Regions from separate parts of the Homo sapiens genome. Here regions 1, 2, 3, 4, 5 and 7 are each linked to region 6. The links are contacts of gene promoters, found by promoter capture Hi-C in blood cells and fetal thymus (Javierre and others, 2016). All regions are on one chromosome and are shown on one strand. Each heading gives the region's core, a stretch centred on a gene start or on the middle of the fragment in contact. The rest is flanking DNA. Distances are from core to core; before and after follow the strand shown.

Region 1 (3,876 bases), core at 457-2,956, 4.7 Mb after region 6:
CCAAATATTGTCCAGTATAGAGAATCATTTGAAGGTCAGATAAATTATGCGAGAGAGTTAAAAAATCCTAAGACATTAATAAATCTTTTTGTGAATGCATTCTTAGGAAAAAGATACCATTTTTGCTTAAAAACATACGCATATGAATATCAGCTTGATTCAAGGACAATACTGATATCATGCCTGCATTTTTTTTTTTTTTTAAATTGAGACAGTCTCGCTCAGTGGCCCAGGCTGGAGTGCAGGGGCATGATCTCGGCTTACTCCAACCTCTGCCTCCCAGGTTCAAGTGATTCTTATGCCTCAGCCTCCCAACTGTGCCTGTATAATTTAATACTGGCTGTTATTAGTGATTGCTTTAAAAGAAGCAATGCAGTAAGTGCAAGAATTTGGACAGAGCAAGAACAGTAATTTACATATTTTTTAACTGAACTTCCTGTAAGTGCTGCCACCACTACCACTGAGAAAATGTTCTGATCTTTAGAAAGTATCCTCACTCAGTATGCTCCTCTGTACCTCACTATTATAATAGTGAGGTATGTTGAAAGTTTTCTCAGGTTCTTAAAGTATTATAGCTATAATGCTGTTTTGGAACTATATGCATTATATTTAATAATGCAGGTATTAAGATAAGGCAAAGCTTCTCTAAAGGCAGGTCAAAGTGGTTTATTGAAGTCCTACCCAAATATTCTCATTATTATAAATTTCTGTAACTTAATTTCTGTAAACTAAAAACCAGGTAATCTAGATTGAAAGTAGAAGATAATTGAAATGACTCAGGGACATATCACATACCAGTTTCAGAGTCTGAATTAGAGCTAAAGTTACTACATTCCCAGATGAACTCTGTGTCTACTATAAGTCTCTTCTACTTTTATAAAAATGTGATTCAATTAATACATTATGTCACAAGGTACTGTATTTTTTATGCTGGCAGTGAAATGAAGATTTATATTTCATGTGAAAGAGTACAAAATTAACCAACTCTTCCTTTTCAGGACCTTGAATTTTCCTTTATCTTTCTCCTGGCATCTATCCTTTAGTTTCTTTTTTTGTTGTTGTTAACAAAATTTTAATATTTCAAGTTAAAAGGTTTTGAGCAAATATTCCAGCAGATGTTTTGGATTTATATTGACTGCTTCACATAGAAACATCTGTGTGATTCAAAAGGGGTAGCGTATTTTAAAAATAAGGCTTTATTATTTCTCTTAGTTTTAGAAGAATACATGCTAGCATCAAACATAAATGATAGCATAGTATATGTAATTTTTTGCTTTTTGTTATGCTACATACATTATAACATCTATATACATATAAATAGTGAATTATAGTTTTCAGGAGTTTTTTTCACATTATAATTTCTCACATGTATATTTGGATGATCTTTCCAGGTCAATCATAAAAAGTCATACAGATTCTTAATTAGCTTTATCATATAGATTCTTATCCCAGTGGCACATTACAAACAGTAGATCAAAAGAAGATATGTGCACCACGAGTGACAAGAATGTCACCACAAAGTATAAGAAATAAATACTCCTGGAGGCTGGATGCGGTGGCTCACAATTGTAATTTCAGCAACTTCGGGAGGCTGAGGTGGGAGGATCTCTTGAGCCCAGGAATTTGAGATCAGCCTGGGAAACATAGGGTGTTTGTAGACCCCATCTCTACAAAAATTTAAAAAATTAGCCAGGTGTGGTGGTGTGTGCCTGCGGTTCCACCTACTCTGGAAGCTAAGGTGGGAGGTTTGCTTGAGCTCGGGAGGTCGAGGCTACAGTGAGCCATCATCGTGCCATTGCACTCTAACCTGGACCCTGTCTCAAAAGAAAAAAAAAATACTGCTGGAAATAAGGCCATAGCACAGTCAGTGAAAGAAGTGAGAACTAGGAAAACTGTTCTTTGAGTTGTGATAGTCTCAGTACTATGTAGTGATTCAGAAAATGTTAAAAGTGATATTGGCCACTCTTCCTTACTTAAGAAGTAAGGGATGGAAAGAATCATCAAAGTGTTCTTCTAAGCTGGACACAGTAGCATGGGCTTGTAGTCCTAGCTATTGGGGAGGCTGAGGCGAGAGGTTCCCTTGAGCCCAGGAGCTCAAGGTCAGCATGAGCAAAATATTGAGACACTTTTTCTTAAAAGAAAAAAAAAAGCCTAAATAAAAAAAAGAAGTATTCTTGTAGTCCTTTCTATCCATAGGAAGAAGCACAGAAGTACCTTTCTTTGTGGACCGAGACATAAAGGTGGATGGGGCAGTGCCCATCTTCATGTTTGTTCACAAATCATATGCAATTTTTTAAAAAGTGCATAAAATTAAGGAAAGCTCAAAGAGGGTGGAAACAGTGTATCCTATACACTGTTGAATCCTCAGAGTTTATCACAACACTTATTATTTTATTTATTTAATAAGTAAGTGATTAAAGTGGATAAAACAAAGCAGAGAATTAATGGCCAGTCAGAAAACTAAGATAACCCATCTCTGATGTGATATATTGGTGGAAAAACATGATTTTATGTGTGACATTTAAGGAATTGTATTTATTGAATGAAATCAAGTATGTCTGCATTTTGTTTATATTTCAGAGATGTTTAGGTCAATGCAAACAGCACTATTCAATAAAATAGTGTATTTTTAATAGAAATCATTAATGATGGAGTTTTCTGTTAACCTAAGTCATTATACAATCTTTGTGACCGGTATACCTTGACTTTGTGCCCTAATTCTTTTGAGTATGGTCCTGTTTTTTGTTCAGCAGCTGCTTTTTAGTAAGCTTTTAAGTACTTTTAATTTAGCCATGCTTTTGATGTACGTTTTTAAAAGTGGACTGTAATGTTTATATTTTGTAGAAAATGGCTCTCTCTACATAGTAATGGATTACTGTGAGGGAGGGGATCTGTTTAAGCGAATAAATGCTCAGAAAGGCGTTTTGTTTCAAGAGGATCAGGTAAGTTTGCATTTAGGAAATTGACTCTTACTCTATTATTGAGAAGTAGTTCAAAATTTGTTTATGTGTGTATTTGTTTTTAACTACAAATGCTAATCAAAATTACTAGGGAAGTTTAGTATATCAATAGTTTACTCATATTTACCTCTAATTAGCTGCCACCTTTGTTCAGTTGCCCATCTCATTTATAGTCTGTAATGATATATTGTTATCTCTGTGATGTATGTTATATATATCATGCGTCTATGTATATGCCTTAATTATTCATTATAACTGACTAGTCTATATTCTGTCAATCTGGCTTACTGCTGCCAGACTATATATTCCTAAAATGTGGCTTTGCCAGGTAACTCCAGCTCTAGAAGCCTTGCACCGACAACTGCATTAAATCTAATCTCTCTTTTGATTTCCAGGATCTCTAAAATATGGCCGTTCCCTACCTAAGCAGCCTTATTTTTTTCTATTCCCTAATCTGTACCTCTTTTCATTTGCTTTAACAGATATTTATTGAGCATGTGCTTTGTGTTAGGCACCGGGCCACATGTTTGTACATCTCATTCTCCTTCCTGTGTATTTACTCTGATTATTTCATTTATTTTGGTAAGCCTTTTCCCCAAACTTTGTTATTAATACTCTACCTTTTTTTTTTAAGCTCAGTTCAAGTCCCAGCTTCTTTAAATTTTCCATAACTACTTTAATCTGTGATATTTTCCTTCTCTACATTCCTATCACATTTCTCATTATCACCAGTTCTTAATTTTAATTGCCCGCTTTTACATAGGGGAGTAGAGGGAGCACTGTGCTAGGAGTGTTGTATTTGTTATCTCTTCTAATTTGGATAAGTTTTTTCAATTTATAAGGAATCCAAGAGAGGTTAAGTACTTGCCCCAAATCACATAGTCAGTGTTTGAACCCACCTCTAACTCTAAAGTTT
Region 2 (4,082 bases), core at 151-2,650, 4.7 Mb after region 6:
TTGTTCATACTAAGAAATCTGCAGTTCCATAGAGGCAAACAAATTAAATATTATGTGGCTTTTGAGAAAATTACCAAAAGGCTTTTAAAAACATAAACATTAATAGCTTAAGAATCATTTAATTTTGATGTATCAAAGCATGTATGCTAAGATTTTTGTGAAGAACACAGACACTCTGTTTTTATTTCTTTACAGAATAGAAGGGCTTAATACATATGATAACATTTCAGTGAACATTAGCTAGAGGCTACACAGCACTAAGAAATCTCTGTAAAATCATTAAACCTTTTTATGTGTTAATACTTCAATCAGCAAATTCCAATATATCTCCTCCATTTTATCCCTAAAAGTCTCTCAAAAATCGTAAGTGGTAACTGGAAATTTAACTATTTCCGTTAAAAAAATTAATTTCATAATACCTTTGAGACACCTAGCCTGCAGATCATTCTTTGTAACACAAGCATGCAACTCTGCTCCAAATAAACCAATTAAACCCAGGCCTGCATGGGTTTCTATTTCTATAAATTTGATAACTTAAGATAAAAAAAAAAAACTATTCCACGTATTAACCCAGAAACCTATAGAGCTGTACTGACTGATGCAGCAGCCAGCATACATACGGCTATCGAGCCATTGAAACATGGCTGGTCCAAACTGAAATGTGCTCTAAGTGTAAAATACCTACCAGATTTCTAAGACTTAATATTTAAAAAGGATGTCAAATATTTGACTAGAAATTTTATACTGATTACATGTTGAAATATTTTAGATCCATTGGGTTAAATAAAATATATTTGAAATGAATCTCACCACTTTCTTTTTACCTTTTTAATGTGGCTACTGAAAAATTAAAAATTACCTATGTGGCTTGCATTTGCAGCACTAACACTTTTATTGAACAGCACTGCTATAAAATATTCAAATTTCTATAGTAGCATAAAGGACATATAACAGAAGGAAATCTGAACACTAGTGTTAAATATTTTCAGGTTCTAAACCCAATTCCCAGGCTTGGGCACAAAAGGCTATTTAGACTCTAACACAGCAGATGAAATTTTACATATTTAAAAAAAATAATGCAAAGTCACCTTTTCCATTTTAATCACCAAAAATATACTTATAATCATTTCAAAACATTGTAATAGATACACAGTAGCTTGTAAATATATTCTTACAAAATTATAAAAATTAGAGATAAGCTGGGTGTGGTGGCGCATGCCTGTAGTTCCAGCACTTTGGGAGGCCGAGGCAGCTGGATCGCTTGAGGTCAAGAGCTCAAGACCCACCTGGCCATGGTGGTGAACCCCATCTCTATTAAAAATAAAAAATTAGCCGGGCGTGGTGGCAGCCGCCTGTAACCCCAGCTACTAAGGAGCCTGAGGCATGAAAATCGCTTGAGCCAGAGAGGCGGCAGTTGCAGTGAGCTGAGATTATGCCACTGCACTCCAGCCTGGGAAACAGAGTGAGACTCTGTCTCAAACAAAGTAATAATAATAATCAGAGATAAACTATGAAAACTTCCAGTAATAAGGCCTCGTTTACCTAATAAATTCCTATATTATCTACGTGCAATTATTTTGCTTCCTTCGAATCTGATGACACTGCAGCCAGCACAGTTTTTTTTTCCAAAAAGTAAGTTTGCTCATAATCTCTCTCCATTCCATGTTAACATCTCTTAATCATTTCCTGCTACCCTTAAGAAACAAACTCTTTAATATAGCAGAAAAAGTTCTATGCAGCCCAACCCCTGCTAGTTCCCCAGCACTTTTTTTTTTTTTTTTTTTTTTTTTTGAGATGGAGTCTCGCTCTGTCACCCAGGCTGGAGTGCAGTGGCGCGATCGCTGCTCACTGCAAACTCCGCCTCCTGGGTTCAGGCCATTCTTCTGCCTCAGCCTCCCGAGTACCTGGGACTACAGGCGCCCGCCACTGCGCCCGGCTAATTTTTTGTGTTTTTAGTAGAGACGGGGTTTCACCATGGTCTCAATCTCCTGACCTCGTGATCCGCCCGCCTCGGCCTCCCAAATTGCTGGTATTACAGGCCTGAGCCACCGCGCCTGGCCCCAGCTTCTTTTAATAGCCATTCTGACTGGCGTGAGATGGTGTCTCACTGTGGTTTTGATTTCCATTTCGCTAATCATTAGTGATGTTGAGCATTTTTTCACATGCTTGTTGGCCAGTTGTATATCTTACTTTGAGAAGTATGTACTTCCTGAAGTACTCTAGACTCACTGATCTTTCAATCTCTCAGTCCTATCAAGCTCTTTCCTGACTCCTGCCCCAAGGCCTTTGTTGCTCCCTCTGCCTGGATCATACCCTCTTCTCTTTAACAACTCACTCTCTTAATATTTTGTTGAAGGTTTTTACATCTATGTTCATCAGGGATATTGACCTGTACTTTTCCTTTTTCATTGTGTCTTTGCCAGGTTTTGGTATCGGGGTGAAGCTGGAATGAGTTAAGGAGGAGCCCCTCCTCATTTTTTGGAGTCGTTTCAGTAGAATTGGTACCAGCTTTCTTTGTACATCTGATAGAATTCAGCTATGAATACATCTGGTCCAGGGCTTTTCTGGTTGGTAGATTTTTTATTACCGATTCCATTTTGGAACTCGATATTGGTCTGTTCAGGATTTCAATTTCATCCTGATTTAATCTTGGGAGGCTGTTTCCAGAATTTACCCATTTCCTCTAGATTTTCTAGTTCGTGTTTACAGATGTGTTCATAATAGTCTCTGGGGATCTTTTGTATTTCCATGGGATTGGTTGTAATGTCACCTTTGTTGTTTCTGATTGTGTGGTGATTTGGATCTTGTCTCTTTCTCTGTTAATCTAGCTAACGTCTGACAAAGGTCTAATATCTACAATCTACAAGAAGCAAACAATTCAACAAGCAAAAAACAACATTATTAAAAAGTGGGCAAAGACGGCCGGGCGCGGTGGCTCACGCCTGTAACCCCAGCACTTTGGGAGGCCTAGGTGGGCGGATCACGAGGTCAGGAGATCAAGACCATCCTGGCTAACATGGTGAAACCCCGTCTCTACTAAAAATACAAAAAAAATTAGCCGGGCGTGGTGGTGGGCGCCTGTAGTCCCAGCTACTCCGGAGGCTGGGGCAGGAGAATGGCGTGAAACCAGGAGGCGGAGCTTGCAGTGAGCCGAGATTGCGCCACTGCACTCCAGCCTGGGCGACAACAGAGCAAGACTCCGTCTCCAACAAACAAACAAAAAAAGTAGGCAAGGACATGAACAGATACTTCTCAAATTAAGATATACAACTGTCCAACAAGCAGATGAAAAAATGCCCAACGTCACTAATCATTAGAGAAATGGAAATCAAAACCACAATGAAACACCATCTCACACCAGTCAGGATGGCTATTATTAAAAAGCCAAAAAACAACAGATGCTGGCAAGGCTATGGAATGCTTATACACTGTCAGTGGGAATGTAAATTGGCTCAGCCCCTGTGGAAAGCAGTTTGGAGATTTATCAAAGAACTTAAAACAGAAATACCATTTGACCCAGCAATGCCATTACTGGGTATATACCCAAAAGAAAATAAATTGTTCTACATAAAAGACACATGTGCTTATATGTTCATCACAGCACTACCCACAATAGCAAAAACACAGAATCAACCTAGGTGCTCATCAATAGTGGACTGGATAAAGAAAATATGGTACAGGCTGGGTGCGGTGGCTCACGCCTGTAATCCCAGCACTTTGGGAGGCCAAGGCTGGCGGATCACCTGAGGTCAGAAGTTCAAGACCAACCTGGCCAACATGGTGAAACCCTGTACTAAAAAAATACAAAAATTAGCCGGGAGTGATGGCAGGTGTCTGTAATTCCAGCTACTCGGGAGGCTGAGGCAGGAGAATTGCTTGAACCTAGAAGGCAGAGTTTGCAGTGAGCCAAGATCGTGCCACTGCACTCCAGCCTGGGCGACAGAACAAGACTCTGTCTCAAAAAAAAATAAAAATAAAAAAAGGAAAGAAAAGAAAATATGGTACATATACACCATGGAACACTACACAGCCATAAAAAGAATAAAATCAAGTCCTTTGCAGCAATGGGGATGCTGCTGGAG
Region 3 (3,572 bases), core at 621-3,120, 3.0 Mb before region 6:
TTAGTATTCCTTGGCACTATCAGGAGCACTTGAATATATCACTTAGTAGGTAGAGAAGTAATCACTCTCTAATTTGTATCTTTCTGATGTGTGGATTTTTACAGGGCAGATTCTTTTAGAGGCTATGCTCGTATTCTACTTTCATTAACAAATGAATCCCAGGAGATTCAACCAATGAATCCCAGGAGATTCATGGCCCAACCTATGAGATGCACACACTTTATGACTAAACTCTGCGGGCAATTTTGCTTGTGAAAAGTTGGGTATCAAGGGAAAACTGTGAGCAACCTTTGAAAGTGTTTCCTGCTATATGCTCTATCAAATGCAGATGAGCCAGGTGGGTGGGAGGCAGAAGTCAAAAATGAAGACTACATTTCTATTGCAGGTGCACAGACCTGCAGCCTCACAAAAAGATCACATTTCTTTGAGAGAGTTATCCATTCCTCTAAGAAGCACAGGTTGGAAGTACATTTTTTGAACTTCTGTTACATTGTGAAAAGAGGGGCAAATGATTTTAGGTTCAGATTCCAACAGCAGATCTGCCATTGACCTTGAATTGTTACATCCAATAGTTGTTATGGCTGCAGGAAACTGAAAGGAAGCAAGCCACTGCATTTTTCCCACCCATATACTGACATAGGTACTCTCCAGGGAGGGCACTAGTTCAATGAGTTTGAAGAAGTGATTGTCCTTGTTTAGAACTTCATGGAACACTTACTGACAGCCGTGTGCTGAGAAATGACTTCCCCCTTATCAGTCTGGTGGAGAGCACTTGATAAAAACCCCCTCTCATCTTACAGAAATAAATCTGTACCTAACACCAGAGAATCAATAACATATCAATGTTTTCAACTATCGTGCATAGATCCCATTGTGTACTACTCTATCCAGAGCTATGAGTTTTCCATCACATCAGTCTACTACAGCAGCAGTGTAACCTGCAATATATCATTACTGCATGAACAACTAGGCATATGCTGATGTTATCAATTCCAGACTAAGCAAAACCATGAAGTGACAATGTTGTCCAAGGACAGCAGCTGCTGACAATGAAAAGAGAACACCTCAAAGGAAAAGCAATTACATAAACCCTGGATTACTCTAAATATGTGGTAGATGAGATGCAATAAAGAACAATCATATAGTATCATCTCTTTGTGACAATTATTCACCTTTGGTTAGCATGGGGTCCAGGAACAGGTCTTTTCTTTTAAGAAAAAGGTGATAACTGTGGTCAGTATCTTTAAACAGCACTAAAAACGATTTGAGGAAGCAGTATCAATTTTTACAGTTGGCAAAAGCTTAGGCTAAACTCAGAAAAGACAGAATGAGATTGGGTAGACATATTAACTCAAAGGCCGCTTTCATTTTCCTGCAAAAATTAAACATGTGATCATGCATCACAATTACATATATTTTGACTTTTTTATCATTAAGTCAACAAAGGAAATAGGTTGCTAGTCCTTCTCTGCCAGTATATTAGCCATGAATTTCCATGGGAACTGTGAAACAATGGAGAACCTGTTATTTCTCTGGAAAGTTTTTACACTCTCTAAGTAAATTTCCAAATTCCATTCAAGGCTTCAGAGAAAGCAGGAAGCCAGAAAAATATTTAAAGATCAAGTGATACATTTAAACCAAACTAGGGCCTGTCACAAATATAAAGTAACCGATGTCACTGAATACAATAAGCATTCGGTAAAAACAAGGAGAGACTTGTGGTATAGGAAGCTTGGGGACTAGCAAAACAGATGTGTTGCTCTAATACATCTTGGGAAGCCCTGTAAAATGACTGTCTTCCAAGTGATGATGACATCAGAATTTATTCTTCTGCTGTTTATTGATTTCCATGATAGAATCACAACCTCTCATATTGGAGCTCTCTTAAAAACACAGTACTTCCTATATGATTAAATGTGACACCCGGCAAACTCCATCTAGCCTTCTACGCATCTTTAAATATAGAGAGATAAGATGTATCGTACAGGCTTATCTTACCGTAAAGCTTTTGGTCCAAAGTACATAAAGAGCTCCTTCCCCAAAGTTTCCACGCCACTGTAAACATATCCATTAAACAGGCTCAAGACATTCTGGCTGGAATCATTATTCAGTGCAGCAGCCTAGTGGAAAATACATGTACACACATAAGCACACACACACACAAACTCTAAGCAAAAGCATTATTTAATTCTTAAATGTGTTTATATTACTTCACGCCCAGGTGCATTCCAATGAGAAGAATAATCTCCAACAAGTCATGTAATGTAATCGGCTGTTTACATACATTTTGTCAAATCACTATGCAGTCATTTAAAGAGAGAGAGGCCAAAAAAATTAAGTGAAAAAAAGTAATTGGTAGACAAGCAAAATAAAGTTTCTTCCAGGACCATATAGCTCTGTGCATATGAAAAGAAAGCATAGGAATACAACACGAATGTTCTAAAACTAAAAACTGGAATATAGGTTCTTCCATTTCCAGAAGTATATAGCCAAGTTCCCTGAAAGAGTGGTCAGATAAAAACAGCTACAAATGACAGATGATAAAATATGAAAACAAAATATTTTTAACTTCACCGATGAACTTTTAAGCTAGTATGAAATAATAAAAGGTCAAAAACTAAAAGCGGGAGAGAACCCTGAGAGGTAGTAGGGAGAGCTGTGAAGCCAGCATCTATCCTAAGGGCATTGATTGAAACTAAGGAATGAGAGCTTCAATTTTCACATGAAACTAAGGAATGAGAGCTTCAATTTTCACATCTTGTGAGGGTGCAGGAGATCAGAGATAAAAACCTGCGGCCCCCTGAGTAGGGGAATCTAATTTGAGACCTGTCCTATTCCAAGCACAATGTTAAGAATAAAGAAAAAATAAACTCATATTCCCTTTCCCCCATCAGCCTTGCAAAACCAAACAATATATTGTTAGAATGACAACATATAGGCAGAATCCTATAAGATATTCGAGGAAATTATAAACATGAATTAAACAGAAAACAAAAATATAAAATGTAGGTTCTTCTGTGGGAGAAGAAAAGAAAGGGCGTTTGGTTTAGATTTTAGTAATGCCCTTTTTCTTAAACTGAGCATTATGTATACTGGTGTTTCTTATGTCATTATTTTTTATTATTTATATATGTTTTATAAACATTATTTAATTTAAACTCAAAATGTAATAAAAATGTAAAACTTAAGACATGCGTAATTATTATATAAGATAAAATAGGGTACACAGAATTACATCTACGCATTAACTCAGTCTAAGGTAATATCCTCATTTACCTCTAACTTCTTTTGTGTTTTTCTCAAATGGGCCTAAGGATCCTCAGAAGATTCTGAACGAAACCTTGGTGGGCAGTGGGAGTGGGGAAATGTCAAGATATAATTATAAAACAGCTTTAGATACAGAGTCTAGAAACAAGTCACAATTTTTCCTCAATTTAGAGTGAAATGATATTGTTCAGTGATTCTCAAACTTTTGATTTTACAGACATTTGTCATTCTAAATGCTTAAGATGACATGTCCACTCTATTCTTTATTTCACTAAATTGGTCTTTGTTAAGATACAATCACAGTA
Region 4 (3,893 bases), core at 353-2,852, 3.2 Mb before region 6:
GTCCTTTGCTGTTTGGGATTTTTGAAATGCATTTGATTACAATTTAGGTAACCCTCTTAAAGTCAAAGCTGCTTAAGTTCTCTGTACTCTAATACCCATTTTAGAAGCTAAATTATTCTGTTGCCTTTCACTTCATCATCTTCAAGTTACTTTCCTTAAATTATTTTACTTAAAGAAAAATAATGAGAGGATTACTAATCTAGCATATTTAAAATATCCTCAACATAATCATTTCTTTGGTTGGTTGTTTAAGGAGAAAGAGTGCAGGTGGGTGGTGTGTGGGTACATTCTGAGTCTTAGTTGTTTATGAGACACAATCGGATGTTATTATGTAATATAACATGACCTATTAGTTTGGAAGAAGTATAATTTAAAAGAAAATAATGTGGTTTCTGGAATTAGATATTATGGGTTGGTATGCTAGCTGTACTATTTGGGAGAATTTGGACAAGTTGCTTAACCTTTCTGGGTTTCTTTTCCTCGCCTATAAAGCATGGATAATAATAGTGAGAGGATTAAATAAGTTAACACATGAAATACTCAGGATAGTACTAGGTTCTTGGTAAGTACACAATATGTGGTAGCTGTTCATCGTCATGATGTTATTGTATACATACATGACATATTGACATATTTAGGCTCCTCACATCTCCTAGAGGGAAACCAAAACTCATGGCAGAGTCAGGAAAATGAAAAATAAGCCAAAAACCTCTTTTTTATTGTAGAAGGTCTGACTCTTCAACCTGTCCCTTAATATGAACACTAATTGACTTGGGTACTTTCCACCATTCCCCATTTTTCCCTTACATTTTCCCATACAGGGATTATATTATATATTTATCCTCAAGTATTTTTATTTTTTTCTTTTTTTTTCGAGACGGAGTTTCGCTTTTGTCACCCAGACTGGAGTGCAATGGTGCGATCTCGGCTCATGCAACCTCCGCCTCCTGGGTTCAAGTAATTGTCCTGCCTCAGCCTCCCGAGTAGCTGGGATTACAGGCGTGTGCCACCACGCCTGGCTAATTTTTGTATTTTTAGCAGTGACGGGGTTTCACCATGTTGGCCAGGCTGGACTCGAACTCCTGACCTCAGGTGACCCACCTGCCTTGGCCTCCCAAAGTGCTGGGATTACAGGCGTGAGCCACCGTGCCCGGCCTACCTTCAAGTATTTTTAAAATTCACTAACTCAGGAGATTCTTGCTCACCTCCCATTTTCAAAAGAAAGAGAATTCACATAAAGTGAACAGCCGAAGTCGCTGAAAATTGGTTTTCCTTACACTTTCCCTCCCAGTTACAGCCTTTTTGTTGTAAGGAAGAAGGGGCTATTTGCCATCACTGAAGGGCTTTGGAGCGGCATGGTGAGTTCAGTAAAATTAATTTTTTTTCAGTCAAGTAATGAAACCTCTAACACCAAGTAGCAGCAACTTTCAGTTTAGTTTTTCATTGTCTTCAATTCAATGTACAAAACCTTGTAGTAAAAAAAGCATGAAAAAATTATTTTTTAAGTATTCTAGATGAGAAGAGAAATAGTCTCAAATTTAACAACTGTCAACAGTTAAAATCTAAAAACAGGAGGCATAGTAGGAGTTTAGAACCTTTGTAAATTTAGAATTTTGGTAAACTTGTTTTCTCCTTGTTGTTTCTCACTTTTGACTAATAATTTCCGTGAAATCAAGGCCTGCCTTTCTGTGCTCCACAAAGTTGCTTATATTGCTACTGTTAGCCCCAGTTAGTCCAGGGAATGGAATGTAGAGTACAGGCACCTATAGAATTTAAAGGGGAGATTTCTTTATTTTGTATTCAATGTATTAATAAGATTTTTAAAACATATTTTGGAGAAATTGCTAATTAGTGTATAATCCTGATGCCAATTCTAAAAAACCTTTTTTTTTTTTGTAGAGACAGGGTCTTATTCTGTCACCCGGGCTGGAGTGCTCTGGTATGATCCTAGTTCACTGTAACCTCAAATACCTGGTCTCAAGCAATCCTCCTACCTCAGCCTCCCCAGTAGCTGTCTCTATAAGCATGCACCACCACACCTGGCTAATTTTCTTATTATTTTTGGTAGAGACAGTCTCACTATGTTGCCCAGGCTGGTCTTGAACTCCTAACCTCAAGCAAACATCCCTCCTCGTGCTCCCAAAATGCTGGGATTACAAGCATAAGCCTTACAAGCATAAGCTACCATGACTGGCTTCCAAAAAATATTTGTTTAAATTCTCTTCCCTCCACAAACACACGCAAAAGAAATATAATCTCCCTTCAGTTTTTTTGACAATATACCACTTTCAGTGGTTTATCTTAGACATCTCAAACCTTTAGAAACAAGTCCTGAACTTAAGCGTTCTGCATGTAGAATCAAAAGGAAAATAAACTGCCAAATCTGAAGGTTTGCATTTGAAGTTTGCATTAGTATACTTATCTCTGGATTCCGTTGATTCACATACTCCTCCTACAAGATTTTCCCTAAACACATTTTGAAAAGAAAATGTTGTCTTTACTGAATAATTTCTCTACACACACCCACAATCACTTCTTAGTTTATTTAAATTAGCAATTGTGTCTGCCAGAAGAAAGTTCCATCTAGAGATACAAGGTTGGTTTTCCAATCAGTAGCTGTGGGATAGAATTAAATAAATTAGTCTATGGCCATACCACCCTGAACATGCCTGCTCTCGTCTGAGCTCAGAAGCTAAGCAGGGTCGGGCCTGGTTAGTACTTGGATGGGAGAATTACATAAATTAGTTTTGTTTTTGTTTTCTTCAGACAGAATCTCACTCTGTTACCCAGGCTGGAGTGCAGTGGCATGATCTCAGCTCACTGCAACCTCCGCCTCCTGCGTTCAAGCAATTCTTTCTGCCTCAGCCTCCCAAGCAGCTGGGATTACAGGCCTGTGCCCCACACTTGGCTAGTTTTTTGTATTTTTGTTATAGGCGGGGTTTCACCATGTTGGCCAGGCTGGTCTGTAACTCCTGGCCTCAAGTGATCTGCCCACCTTGGCCTATCAAAGTGCTGGGATTACAGGCCTGAGCCACCACCCCAGCCAGAATTAAGTAAATTAGTTTTAAAGAAAGAAGAAACCATTTTACCTGTATATTGGCTAAATTATTTGATAGCTAACATACATAATATATACCATAACTCTATCTCACTCATTACTTAATATATCCTAGTGTTATTTGCTTTAGATAAAATAATCTATACAGTATTCACTAAAATGTTGCAGTAAGTTACAGTAAAAGTCTACTCCTTTGAAGATGTTTAACAGTAATATAGATTAATTCCATAATTGGGTAGTTATACACAAACATGCCTGAAGACAGTGGAGAAGGCTCACTTTTTCAGGTTTTTTTTCCTTCTTGGACTCCATGATTAGCCACACATACAAAAGGGCAAGGCAGGATTTTAACGTCCTTTCCTTGAAAACATTCGAAATCGAGAAAGAGGTGTGTCTAAGCACAAGAAACGACTGTTGTTAAAACGGTGTTGCTTTCTCATATTTCACATATCTCCAGACATAATGATTCTGGAAATTAGGATAATTACCACTTTGCTCTCCTACTCAGCTTTTATGGATCACCTGATTTTTCTTTTTGTCATCTAGAGAGATGTGTGAACCCAGGTAATTTGACAGCAGATTGTCCCTGAACAGATGTAATTTGAAGAAGACTGAAGAAGCTTCATTCTCTTTAACTATTTGGTTTTATTTCATACAAAGAAAATGAAACGACGGAACAGTTTTTCATTTGGTTTTATTCTGGCAAATGCTATAATTGAAAGTGTAAAACCAATCAATGACACCACCTCTGGTTAAAATTTATTTCTGAGAATTATCCCGAAGGAGTGATTTCTGAGGAATAATATGCAGCCTTCAATTTACTTTATCACAGCTG
Region 5 (3,764 bases), core at 439-2,938, 4.5 Mb after region 6:
AATATGAAGACATAGAAAATAGGACAGACAGGTAAGAAAAAACATCAGCCAAGAAGGTCCACGATCTAAATAACAAATTTCAAAAAAGAAGAGATACGATGGGGGGTGGGGGGGAAGAAATGATCAAATAAATAATACCAGAAGAATTCCCATAACTGAAGAACATGTGTTTCAGGATTGAAAAACTGGTCGATAGGAATGAGAAAAGACCCATAACCAAGACACTCAATAGTGTTTTAGAACACTGGGAATAGGCCGGACGCGGTGGCTCACACCCGTCATCCCAGCACTTTGGGAGGCCGAGGAGGGCGGATCACGAGGTCAGGAGATCGAGACCATCCTGGCTAACACGGTGAAACCCCGTCTCTACTAAAAATACAAAAAAAAAAAAAATTAGCTGGGCGTGGTGGCGGGCGCCTGTAGTCCCAGCTACTCCGGAGGCTGAGGTAGGAGAACGGTGTGAACCCGGGAGGTGGAGCTTGCAGTGAGCTGAGGTGGCACCACTGCACTCCAGCCTGGGCAACAGAGCGAGACTCCGTCTCAAAAAAAACAAAACAAAACAAAACAAAACAAAAAACACTGGAAACAGAGAAAAGATCCTAAAGCTTCTTGAGACAAAACAAAACAGAAAGGAAAGCAGGTTACATATCAAGAAATTTAGTGACCTGTGAAGGAGAAGGAAATATAACGACATAGTTTCTTAACAATTCTGGAAGCTAAAATATTGCGGAGCAAGCCCTCCAATATTCCGAGTGAAAGTTATTTTCAACCTAGAACTGTGCTCAGCCAGAATAAAAACATTTCCAGACATGCACACTCTGTGGGAAAAAAGACCTGGCAGCAACCTCTCTCAAGGAACTATTGGCGGATATGTTCCACAACATGAGGGTATATAATCAAGAAAAAGGAACACCCAGATTGAGGAAATAGAGAACTCATCTCAGGAATGAGGAATAAGACCTTCCCAGGATGGATGTGAAGGAGGTCCAAGGACATCAGTTGAGAGTTGTGCCTTCCAAATTTTATGTGCATAGGAATTACCAGGGGATCTTGTTGCGATGCAGATATTGATTCAGTAAGTCTGGGTAAGGCCTGAGATTTGGCGTTTTAACAAATTCCCTCAGGATGCTGAGGCCGCTGGTTCAGGGACTACACTTTGCATATCAGCGGTGTAGAGGAAAAACAGTCCAAATTGTACCAAGAAGACGACGGTACAGAGACAGAGACCGACAGACATTTATTTCCTTCTTGGAGACAATCGGGAATGAATTAGTGTAAGCCAATAACCGTACAGTAGGGTAGGGAGAGGGATGGAGGAGAAGGAGAAAAGGATTAATATTTTAAGTAAATATAAATGAAGAAAAAACAAGGAAGGGGCTGTATTGAGAACAGCCGCATACATCCAACCTTGCCTCTAGTAGACACCTGAAGAGGAAGGTTGGACCACTCTAAGGATTCAGATTCAGTAGTCTGGGGGGTCTCTGGAGCGACCCTGGAAGATGCTCCAGAAAGCCTAGATGCAGACTACGCTGACAGAAGACGCTCCTTGCACGCGCCCAGCACGGGAGTGGGCGGGGCCTCAACGCGTCCGGTGCCAGGTCTCAGGGGGCGGGGAATGGGCGGAGCCTTTCCCCTAAATTGGCGAGCCCGGGCGGCGCTGAAATTCGGCTTGGAGGCTTTTGAACCCGGAAGCGGTTGGCGGCGCTCGGAAGCGGCCGCGGATCGGGGAATTCTGCTGGCGCTGCAGCTGCAGAATGGTCGGCGGTGGCGGGAAGCGCAGGCCCGGCGGAGAGGGGCCGCAGGTACTGCCGGAAAGGCTGTGCGGGCTACGCGGGGCGCTTTGGGTGACAGCCAGGGCACCAGGAGGCAGCGCTTTTCATTCATCCAGTGACTATTAAGCTTGCTGTGTGTCCAGGGGCTGCGGTTTGCTGCGGGGATCCTGCCCAGGGCCGCTGTTTCGCGCTCTGCAGGGGGTTGGACCAGGAAAGTAGCTCCTCTGCATCTTCTGCCCAGCTCCTCTTGGAGCATTTCCTGGGGAAACGGATTAAGCCAACCAATGGTTCATTCGCCCAGCCAGATTGATTGGGAACCGATTACATACCTGACATTCTGTGGGGCGCTGCGGATTTGGGGGTCAACCTGCTTGCTCCTGCTGCTTGTTGAGCCCTCGGCCTGGGGAGGAGGGGCACAAGCAAATATGCATTCTACTGTGACTTTTTTGTTTGGGATTATAACGCTGGTGTGTAGAAAGTGCTATGGAAACACTGAAGGAGGATTTAACAAGTCCCAGGGGGTGTTAAAGAAGACTTTTAAGACAACTCTTTGAAAATTGGTTTTGAAGGCAGAGAAGTAAGATTCTGAGACATAAAACTGTAGGAGATGTTTGGGCGTAGCGGAGCGTTCGGCTTGGCTGGAGCCAGGGAAATGGGAAAATAAGAGGGACCTGATCATAAAAGCACTACTGAGAGGGGAGGAGGAGAGAGTGTGTGCATTCTCATACTTTACTACGATTTCGGAAGTTCTGTAACCACTACAGTAGCAATAAGGGGAATCAGGAAAGAAGTGCCATTGTGATAACTAAAGTTTTAGAAAAGTTACTCTGGTAGTGTCATAAATCGGACAGGGTGAGACATTCTTAGAGGGCTTAACTAACTGTTAAAGGGCCATCGGTATAGGCATCCTTCATATTGGGTCATGCATTCTAGGAAGACCAGGGTAAAGAAGAAGTGTAGCCTCTGAAGGGGACAGCTGTTCTAAATCCTAGTTGTTAGGGCTATGGAGATGCTGAACTAGTGTGTGAGTAAAGGCACAGCTGAAAAAATTCTCTTTTTGAAGGTGCAGTGAAGAACTGCTTTGGTGGAGTGATGTGCTTAACTAGAAATACAATAACAGAAATGAAGATGAGTCTGTAGAGACTATAACCGTAATGGCCAGCATTTGTATATTATGTGCTAGGACCGTTCTGTGTATTTTTACATATAATAACATTCCTTGTAACAACCCCGATATAGGCACTGTATGCCCTTTTTGCAGATGAGAAAACAAAGCACAGAGAGGTTAAGTAACTTGCCTAAGGTTGGAAATCAGTAGAGTCAGGAGTCAACCCAGGCAACCTAACTATTATGCAAAACTGCCTTTCAGCAAGGCAGATTAAGCCTTTTCTAACATCTTAAGTTGGAGCCAGTCTTTGAACGTCTGAACAAAGACAGTTATGAAAACAGAAGATAGGATAGCTCAGGACTTCATATGTTCCTACTGTTCTATATTTGATGTTGGAGAAGCAGCATAGTGAAGTGGTTGAGGATCTGCTGTGGACCCAGATTTAAACCTGAGTTTAAATCCCTTCTCTTCCACTTCCTAGTTAGGGACGTAGGGAGGTTAACCTCAGTTTCCTCAGCTGTACGATGAGGTTAATGGTATCTAGTGCATGAGACAGTTGAGGACTAAATGAGTTAATCCACAGAAGGTGCTTAGAACAGTGAAACAGCACAAAATAAGTTCTCAGTAAGTATCACTTAACTACTTGTTTTTACTATTATATTATCTTTACTATTACTATTTGCTATTATTGATACTCACTTTTGGATTCATTGTTCAACAGGCTTTTTGTTGAACGTAATTTTTTTTATAAATCAGACACATTATAATCCTTGGCATAATAAACTGTTACCATATTCATGATCGTCTTTGACCTTATTTATGTTAAGTAATGTAACAAACACCAGTGAACCCATTGCCCAATCCCAAAGCTGAAACAGACAATA
Region 6 (3,589 bases), core at 229-2,728:
TTGCAGCATAGATTCAATAATAAAGAAGCTCTCAATATTCCTTTCTAGCTTCCTTCCTTGTCTACAAGTCAGATCTGCGCAATTGAACTTGTGGGAGAGGTTGTGAAAATAGTGTACTCTAGCAGTTTAGGATTTTCAACATCGCTCAATCTCATTGCTGTTAGAGGTCATTAAAACAATGCCTCCCAATAGAATGTCACTGGACCAGAGTGATTTTTGTTTAGAATGAAGCAACTACACTGACTCTAATAACAGTCAATGGCTAAGAGTTTGTGACATAGCACATAATGCTCGATATTATCTAAAAACACGTATCAAAAACAAAAAAGTAAAGATGAGAAAAACAGTTTATGAAACTGCAAAAGATATTAGGGAAATACTTCTCTAAGAGATAGGAGAAAGGTCTGAGAAAGGCAAAGCATCGAGAAAGCTGGGCGGGAGTGGGGAGGAGTAAGGGACAAGTAAAGAGTTCAACGGGACTGCTGTGTTCACACATAAAATTAAAAGGTCTGCAGATAATTCGGGAAAAAAACAGTCTAGCATGGCCATAATTCCAGAGTAAAAGAGAATAACAACTTCAAGATTAACTTGTTACAGTGAGGGAAAAATCTGTAGCCTTCAATAAAGGTGGAGAAATATTTGAAAAGCTGGGGAAATGCCAACAAGGAAAACACGAACTGCTGTCCTGTCTTCCTTATAGTCAGGAGCCGTTTGTATCCTCACCCCAGAGGATCCAATAGGAATCAGTAAGCCTATAACTTTCCAACCCTAAGTCACAACCTAATTCTGATAGGATGAGCTACCACGATACTTCCCACTTCGTTGTGACTAAAAGCATATACTAGTTGGGTATATAAGCAAGGCTCCCCTCCCGCCATTTGATTTAAAAGAATGAAAAGGCGGATCTGGTCATTCGTCTCCGCCCGGGGTCTCTGTAAGGACGGCGGAGAGAGGCGACCTCCGCCCAATACCAGGCGCAGCCTTGCCGTCTCCTCGGGGCTCACCAAGCAGCCACCAGCAAAGAAGCCGGTTTCAAAGGCCCAGCACGACAGGGAGAGGAAAACGGAGCATATGCAACCATACACAGTCACCAGAGTCCAGCCTCCCGCAACCAGTCGCTACAGCCAGGCGCCTGCGCCCAGAAGCGCTTCTCGCGCCGACCGTTTGTATTTGGAATTGTGGGTTCCTGCCCGCCACGCACCACCGCAAGACCTTCAAAGCTGGGAGCTTCTCTGTGCTCCAGGATTCCTCGCTGCCGATTCCACACCGCGTTCAAGACTCCTGTGAAGAGCGACTCCGCTGAGAGCCTCCTCAATGGCCAGTCCACTTCTAACTTGCAGCTGAGAAGTTTTTCTGATCTTGATGGTCAGAGTGGCTCGTGCTACGAAGTGAGAAACAAGGAATCTATAGCGAATCGTAAACAACAGAAATAAAAATGCGTCTCCGTTAAGAGTCGGAGCCTAACGTCACTTCCGGCAACAATAGGAAACGTCAAAATTGGGATAGTCGGCAGTTCTGGCCCCTGCAGCTGGAGGTACCCTGAGTTCTGAGGGTCGTAGTGCTGTTTCTGGTATTCTCATCGCGGTCACCTCTACCGGTGTGGACAAGTAAAGTTTGAATCAGCTTCTCCATGGCCTGGGCACCAGTTCCCGGCTGAGCCATTTTCCTTTTGGCTAAAAGTCCCCGCCCAGAGGCCAATTCGTCGCGGCGGCGGTGGAGATCGCAGGTCGCTCAGGTACAGGAGTCAACCTAGATATTTTAGATCTCTTGTCTCTTTTCCCTGTTCACCTTCACTTTTCTCGAAAATAAAGACAACCAGTGCTTGCCAGTTGGCCGAAACTGGCCGACCAGCAAGAGTTTGCGACCAATGACAGTGCGAAGCATCTTGAGTGACAGTAGTGGTGGCTCATTAAAGTGAGGAATCACTGTCAGGAGGCGGAACTGGGTGTGTTCCTTCTGTTTCTAGGCCATTGGGGTGTAGTTCGGTTTAGGACTCCAAGTAGTAACCCAGCGTCATTGTGAAATAAACCTGAGAAATGACAAGGGTTACTTTCTTCAGGTCCAAGTGTTGGTTTTCGGGTCGAGTGTTATTTTGGTTCCTAGACAGTTTTTGGTTCTTTACCACTTTCCAGTAATATGAATGCAAACACAAGTATAGTTAAGATCACGATGGATTGCTAGCTGCTACAGTAGTCAAACTTGGGTTATAAAACTTGTCAAACTTGTCTTTTATTTGTTTCTCAGCGACTGGGTTCTAATCTCTTACGTAGAAGGTTCTCAATATTTATTTGGCAAAATCACATAAATGGATCCCAATCCTCAGTCATTTAATTTTTTTAGTTTTATTTTTAGGTTCTGTATGAATTTACTAATAAAATAATTGATTCTACTTGTTTTACAAGTAAAATATTCATTTTCAAGGCTCCTAGGTGTATATCCACAAATGAATATATCATGATTTTTATTACGGTAAAGTGAAGACAATTTATGTTTTCTATTTCAGCTTTCCTCTTCCTTCTTTTAATGTTTGAAGTAATGTATTTCTGAGGTAGGAGCTCTACACACTTCTCAACTCTACCCTTCACGAAAATGATATGTGAAACAGAGTAGGTTTCAGAATAAAGAATGCATAAGTTTTATTATTTTTTTCATATTGGGTCAGAAATTCATCTTTAGCCAATTAACCTGACAATATGTCTGATGAGGTACTTCATTAGTTGTCTATTGCTGGGTAACAAATTACCCCCAAATTTACCCCAGCTTAAAACAACAAATATTATCAGTTTCTGTACATCAGGAATTAGGGTGCAGCGTAACTTCATTTAATAATAAGTTACAGCAAATTAACTAATATTACTTGGGGCCCTTGGATCAATTACTTCCATCCACAAAATATTATAGTAACTTCTAGATAAGCCAAAACATTGATCATAATTTATTACATATGGTCACTTTAATGGGGAATGTTTTGTGTGTTTACTGTTGCTAGGTTAAAAGATATCTTCCTCATTTTACAATATAAAAACATTGAATTACCAAATCTTTAATCACAGTGTGTTGAAATTAGTCATTCAGATTTGTAACTTTATGGTTTATTATTTAACCAACTGCTAATGTACAACTAATTTTTTCCTCATTTTGATTCAGATTTGGAAACTGGCACTATTCCATTGACTGACCCATGATAATGCATCAAAATCATTAATACTAAAGTCTAAGAATTATGCATTTAATTTCTGTTTCTTTTTCTTGAATTATTTTACTTAAATAATTTTTTAAACAATTTAAATGAAATACATCTATTTCTGGAAATTTATGTTCACTATTTCTTTTTCGTTTTGCTCTCATTGTTTTGTTTTTCTGACAAATTTCTTGACTTAGCTCTCTAATAAACTAAAACATTTTTGGCTGACTTGAATAAATTTATATCATATTTGGGGCAAGTATTTTTTTGAGACAGATTTTTATTCTGTTGCCCAGGCTGGAGTGCAGTGGTGCGAACAAGACTCACTGTAGCCTTGACCTCCTAGGTTCAAGCAATTCTCCCTCCCACCTCAGCCTTCAGAGTACCTGGGACCACAGGCACACG
Region 7 (3,990 bases), core at 355-2,854, 4.3 Mb after region 6:
GCAAAAGTCAGAGACTCTGCAGGGCCTTGTTCCTTTGGGAAGCCCTAGGGGAGAATCTGTTTCTTTGCCTTTGCCACCTTCTAGAGGCCACCCCCATTCCTTGTTTTGTAGCCCCATCCGTCTTCAAAGCTCAGAGCGGCCAGTCCAATCTTTCTCTTGGGGCATCACTCTGACGCTGACTTCTGCTTCCCTCTTTCACGTGAAAGAACCTTTGTGATTACATTGGGCCCACCTGAATGATGGCTCGTTAAGACCTGTTTGAACTTCCGTGCCCCAGAACTGCAAAATAAATTTATGTTAAATCCCTCAGTCTGTGGAAATCTGTTACAGGAACCATGGAAAGCAAATACAGCCATATCCACTGAAAGGTTTGGTGCAATGGACTAATAGGCAAGGGCAGGAGGAGGGGAACAAAGTGGTCCTTTTACTGTGATGAGCTCAGTGTCATGTGAAGGAGTTTGGATTCTGTCCTATTATAGAGAAAATATGGGAAACCAGAACATGAAATGGAACAGACCGATGCCAGATTTACTTCCTAAAAACACAATGGATAACTAAACCCCAGGTTTCACAGGGCAGCTTGATAAAGGAAGTCCAACAAGAGGTGGTCAGTGGCCAGTAGAGGTCTGGAACCAGCATGCTGTAATTCAGGTCTCTGGATTCATCTGAAATGGCAGCATTTGTATGCATGTATGAAATTAATAGCTTAAAACTTTTACTCACAATAAGAAGGACATCATAAAGCAGAAGAGGCAAGTCACATTTCACTTTGTTTCTGCTCATTGTCCTCTAACAGTAATCAGCTGTTCTGCTGTCTGCGTACCATGCACACGTGAGCAAGGAGCTGTGAAAGCTAAAATTTAACATAATTAACTTGAGAATGATGAGATTTCACATGGGCCAACTCTGACCAGTTGGTAATAGCTGCTTGCAATGTCATGGGCTTGTACTGGTTCAGCTGGGAAAGTGCCACAATCAATCACCAATGTTTGCGATGGGCTCCATATTTGACGTTGGTGTTGGGGGATGTGGGAGTTGACAGCTATAATACTACATAAACTAACTTTTGGGTTTGAATATTAGAAATCTAGTAATTCTTTTCAAACATATTCATTTAGTCTCTCTTATGTACAAGGCCTCAATATCTACCTTGCAAAAATGTGTTGTCTCTTGGTTAAATTGACATCTCTGTGTCCAGAAAACCTAAACTGAAGGATTCTTCTATCTTAGTGTTGTAAGAGTGGCTTTGAATTGAAACTGAACTGCATGTAAGAAAAACAAATTTTTCAGACAATGTGGTAAAAGAAGGCCTGGGTTAGCAGTATCTGACACTGGAAACAACAGTAAGACTTGACTAAAATTTATCCTAATAAAACAAAACTTTATATTGTATAGCTAGCATCCATTTGTATGACTTGATAAGATTTTTACCCAAATGTTCTCATAGAATGATGCAAAAAAAATTGTTTTCTATTGTAAAGTACTAGGTCAGTGTAAACCATTCCCTCGCTCTTAAATCTTAATAGGGAAAAACCAGGTTGTGGTAGCCAGATATTTAGGAGTGAGAACCACCAGGACTCAGTGGTAGAGTTGTACTCTATCTGTGGGCAGGGAAGGAAAGATGGCATTTTAAACAACTCCCATGTAATTAATTGGATTATCTGTGTCAGGCTCTACAGAAGTGCAGAGGGCCCACCTGCTGTGGCCTTTGGAATACTGTGCCCTTAGCTATTCCCAATATTTTTTTTATTGCTCTTTCTCCGAGAGCTTGTACTCTGCTTTCCCTGGGTTCTAACCCGGGTCTCTTGTCTTGCTTGTGGCCCTCTGTGTTCTTTCCGGGTGACTTATTTTTCCTCATGACTGCATCAGTCACCCATGCACCAGTGTCCAGCCTTTCTCAAGCCCATATTCCATCCATTCATTAATTCATTCAACAGGTAGTGACAACCTGAGATTTTAATCTAATGAAGGGTCAAATGTGCAAAAAGATAATTATAGCGAAAATAGGAAGTTATGAGTAAAGGGTGGTGAGAAAAGGAGTGTCTGGGGCTACCTTGGGAGTCTTGGAGGGCTTTTGAACCAAGACCTCAAAGCTAGGGGTTTGCCAGATGTGCAAGGTAAGGAAGGGAACGTGGCTGGAGGTGGTGCCGTGGGGAACTACTGGGAGTTGAGGAAAGAGAACTTGCTGGGGTTGGGGAGATGGGAGGAGGAGGCTCCAGAGATGCAGTCAGGGAGGGGAATGGGAGGAGGGAGGGGGGAGGGGGAGGCTCCAGAGATGCAGTCAGGGAGGTGGATGGGAGTCAGACTGTGAAGAATCACCTAGGTCCTGCGTAGGACTTGAGTTTCACACTGTTGACACAACGAAGACATGGAATATGTTTTAGATCTTTCAGAGTCAGCTGACTCTAGTAATGACATGGTATGTGGATTGGAGGCAGGCAAGACTAGAGGCAGGTCGGCAAGGAAGGAGTCCAGTAGAGATGATGAGCACATAACCCAGGGGAAACCCAGGATGTGGCAGCCCAATATTGAGGAGTGAGAATCATTAGAACTCAGTGATTGATATGTTTCTCAGGGCAGGGAAGGAAAGGGGACATTTTAAACAATGTCTTTATAGTGAACCAGATTCTGTCTCAGGTACAGCAGAAATGTGGAAGGCCCACCTGTCTCGAGGATAGTGGGGTCTGAGCATCTCTCAGGGGTCTTCCTACCAAAGGCAAGACTTTGCAGCACCAGAGAGACTAACTTCCACTGCCTGTGCTTAACCAAAAGGGACTTCAGGCCAGGGAGGAGCTGCAAAGCCCCACACACAGCACCACATGCGAGGGAAGAAGTCGGAACCTTATCACAGGGCACAGACTTTGTAAGAGATACATAAAAGAAGAAATTAACTCCCTGATGGACCCTCAGCTTTTGGACTGAAGCATTGGGGACTTGCTAATGAGACTGAAAGAAAGTTGTTGTGGGTTGGGCTTTCCTAATTCTGGATTGAGACTGTAACTTACTTAGAGGCTGTGCTGAAATTGACTCTAGTCAACAGGAAAGAGGAAAACTTGCTGAACAGATACTGAAGTATAATCCCAACCCCTTCCTTCCACTGAGGATTTGAGTTTGCTGATGGTGTGAGGAAGATCGTAAGGGAAGGGTTTGCTCCTTGAGGAAATAAATGGGTTAGAATAAAGTGCTCCAGAATTGTCCACTTCTGGGACCCACCCAGTTCAGGTGCAGGCTGAGACTAATTCAAATCATTCTCATCGGTTTACGAAAGCAGTACCTCTTAACAAGATAGGATCCATCTGTTCTCGAGTCTCTACCTTTCATATGTGTGTGTATATAGATGAGGTCTCGCTCTGTTGCCCAGGCTGGAGTACAGTGGCATGATCATGGCTCACTGTAGCCTCAAACTCCTGGGCTCAGGTGATCCTCCTACCTCAACCTCTGGAGTAGCTGGGATTACAGGTGCATGCCACCATGCTCAGCTAATTAATTTTTTTGTAGACATGAAGTCTTGCTATGTTGCCCAGGCTGGTCTCAAACTCCTGGCCTCAAGCTATCTCCAGACTCTGCCTCCCAAAGTGCTGGGATTACAGACATGAGCCATTGCACCAGGCTGTATCTGTACCTTTCTGTTCCTTCTTGAAATTAGCAAGGGCTCTATATTTGTGGCAGTAATGACCACCCTGAGGAGACCATCCAACTCCTTTCTTCTCCAAAGGCCAGACGCCCCTGCAAGAAAGTAGGTAGATAAACAGCGACTGTGCTTAAAGATTCAAAACCCGTTTTCCCTGGTCCTAGGCAAGGAAAGGTATTTGAGTGAAGACTAAGTTAGTGTTTGGCTCCCAGCACCTCCTGTTAGGTCTTTACTGCCCAGGATGGCTGTGGATAGCATAAACTCTTGAGTAACCAGTGAGCGTTCTTGCTTCTCAGCTGCTGTTATGAAGTTCATCTTGAAAATTGCTGCTTACCGCTAAAGCTAGGCACTGGGCTTCA

What was found. The method cuts DNA at HindIII sites, captures the fragments that hold promoters and counts their contacts. A CHiCAGO score of 5 or more calls a contact.
Region 1: a fragment that was not itself captured here is called in contact with the fragment with the promoter of FBXO8 in region 6 in 1 of 17 cell types (activated CD4 T cells); the score reaches 6.1 in activated CD4 T cells.
Region 2: a contact is called between a fragment that was not itself captured here and the fragment with the promoter of FBXO8 in region 6, in 1 of 17 cell types (non-activated CD4 T cells). The highest score is 9.4, in non-activated CD4 T cells.
Region 3: a fragment that was not itself captured here is called in contact with the fragment with the promoter of FBXO8 in region 6 in 1 of 17 cell types (total CD4 T cells); the score reaches 6.1 in total CD4 T cells.
Region 4: a contact is called between a fragment that was not itself captured here and the fragment with the promoter of FBXO8 in region 6, in 1 of 17 cell types (total CD4 T cells). The highest score is 8.2, in total CD4 T cells.
Region 5: a contact is called between the fragment with the promoter of HPF1 here and the fragment with the promoter of FBXO8 in region 6, in 6 of 17 cell types (non-activated CD4 T cells, naive CD4 T cells, fetal thymus and 3 more). The highest score is 13.2, in non-activated CD4 T cells.
Region 7: a fragment that was not itself captured here is called in contact with the fragment with the promoter of FBXO8 in region 6 in 2 of 17 cell types (naive CD4 T cells and non-activated CD4 T cells); the score reaches 7.2 in naive CD4 T cells.

The regions. Positions count from the first base shown.
Region 1 is chr4:169,598,166-169,602,041 of GRCh38, reverse strand. It overlaps NEK1 (NIMA related kinase 1), which reads left to right. Exons shown (of 36, transcript NM_001199397.3): 4 at 1-34; 5 at 2,845-2,942. Among named protein-coding and RNA genes, the nearest start is that of NEK1, 12 kb to the left of the region's middle. The HindIII fragment of the contact is 2,128 bases long and covers 643-2,770 here.
Region 2 is chr4:169,630,426-169,634,507 of GRCh38, reverse strand. All of the region lies in intron 1 of CLCN3 (chloride voltage-gated channel 3), which reads right to left. Among named protein-coding and RNA genes, the nearest start is that of CLCN3, 12 kb to the right of the region's middle. The HindIII fragment of the contact is 6,464 bases long and covers 1-4,082 here.
Region 3 is chr4:177,321,007-177,324,578 of GRCh38, reverse strand. NEIL3 (nei like DNA glycosylase 3) reads right to left here. Exons shown (of 10, transcript NM_018248.3): 2 at 1,999-2,120. Among named protein-coding and RNA genes, the nearest start is that of NEIL3, 13 kb to the right of the region's middle. The HindIII fragment of the contact is 274 bases long and covers 1,734-2,007 here.
Region 4 is chr4:177,455,977-177,459,869 of GRCh38, reverse strand. All of the region lies in intron 1 of AGA-DT (AGA divergent transcript), which reads right to left. It also overlaps the pseudogene RNA5SP172. Among named protein-coding and RNA genes, the nearest start is that of AGA-DT, 13 kb to the right of the region's middle. The HindIII fragment of the contact is 4,157 bases long and covers 1-3,680 here.
Region 5 is chr4:169,755,868-169,759,631 of GRCh38, reverse strand. It overlaps HPF1 (histone PARylation factor 1), which reads left to right and starts at 1,688. Exons shown (of 8, transcript NM_017867.3): 1 at 1,688-1,802. The coding sequence starts at 1,755. LOC107986240 (a long non-coding RNA gene) reads right to left here and starts at 1,569. Exons shown (of 3, transcript XR_001741529.2): 1 at 1,408-1,569. RefSeq lists an enhancer at 1,771-1,840. The HindIII fragment of the contact is 1,294 bases long and covers 608-1,901 here.
Region 6 is chr4:174,281,556-174,285,144 of GRCh38, reverse strand. FBXO8 (F-box protein 8) reads left to right here and starts at 1,478. Exons shown (of 6, transcript NM_012180.3): 1 at 1,478-1,735. CEP44 (centrosomal protein 44) reads right to left here and starts at 1,234. Exons shown (of 12, transcript NM_001040157.3): 1 at 1,202-1,234. RefSeq lists a silencer at 1,002-1,269 and an enhancer at 1,034-1,283. The HindIII fragment of the contact is 4,999 bases long and covers 1-3,589 here.
Region 7 is chr4:170,018,888-170,022,877 of GRCh38, reverse strand. All of the region lies in intron 1 of MFAP3L (microfibril associated protein 3 like), which reads left to right. Among named protein-coding and RNA genes, the nearest start is that of MFAP3L, 5.5 kb to the left of the region's middle. The HindIII fragment of the contact is 7,338 bases long and covers 1-3,990 here.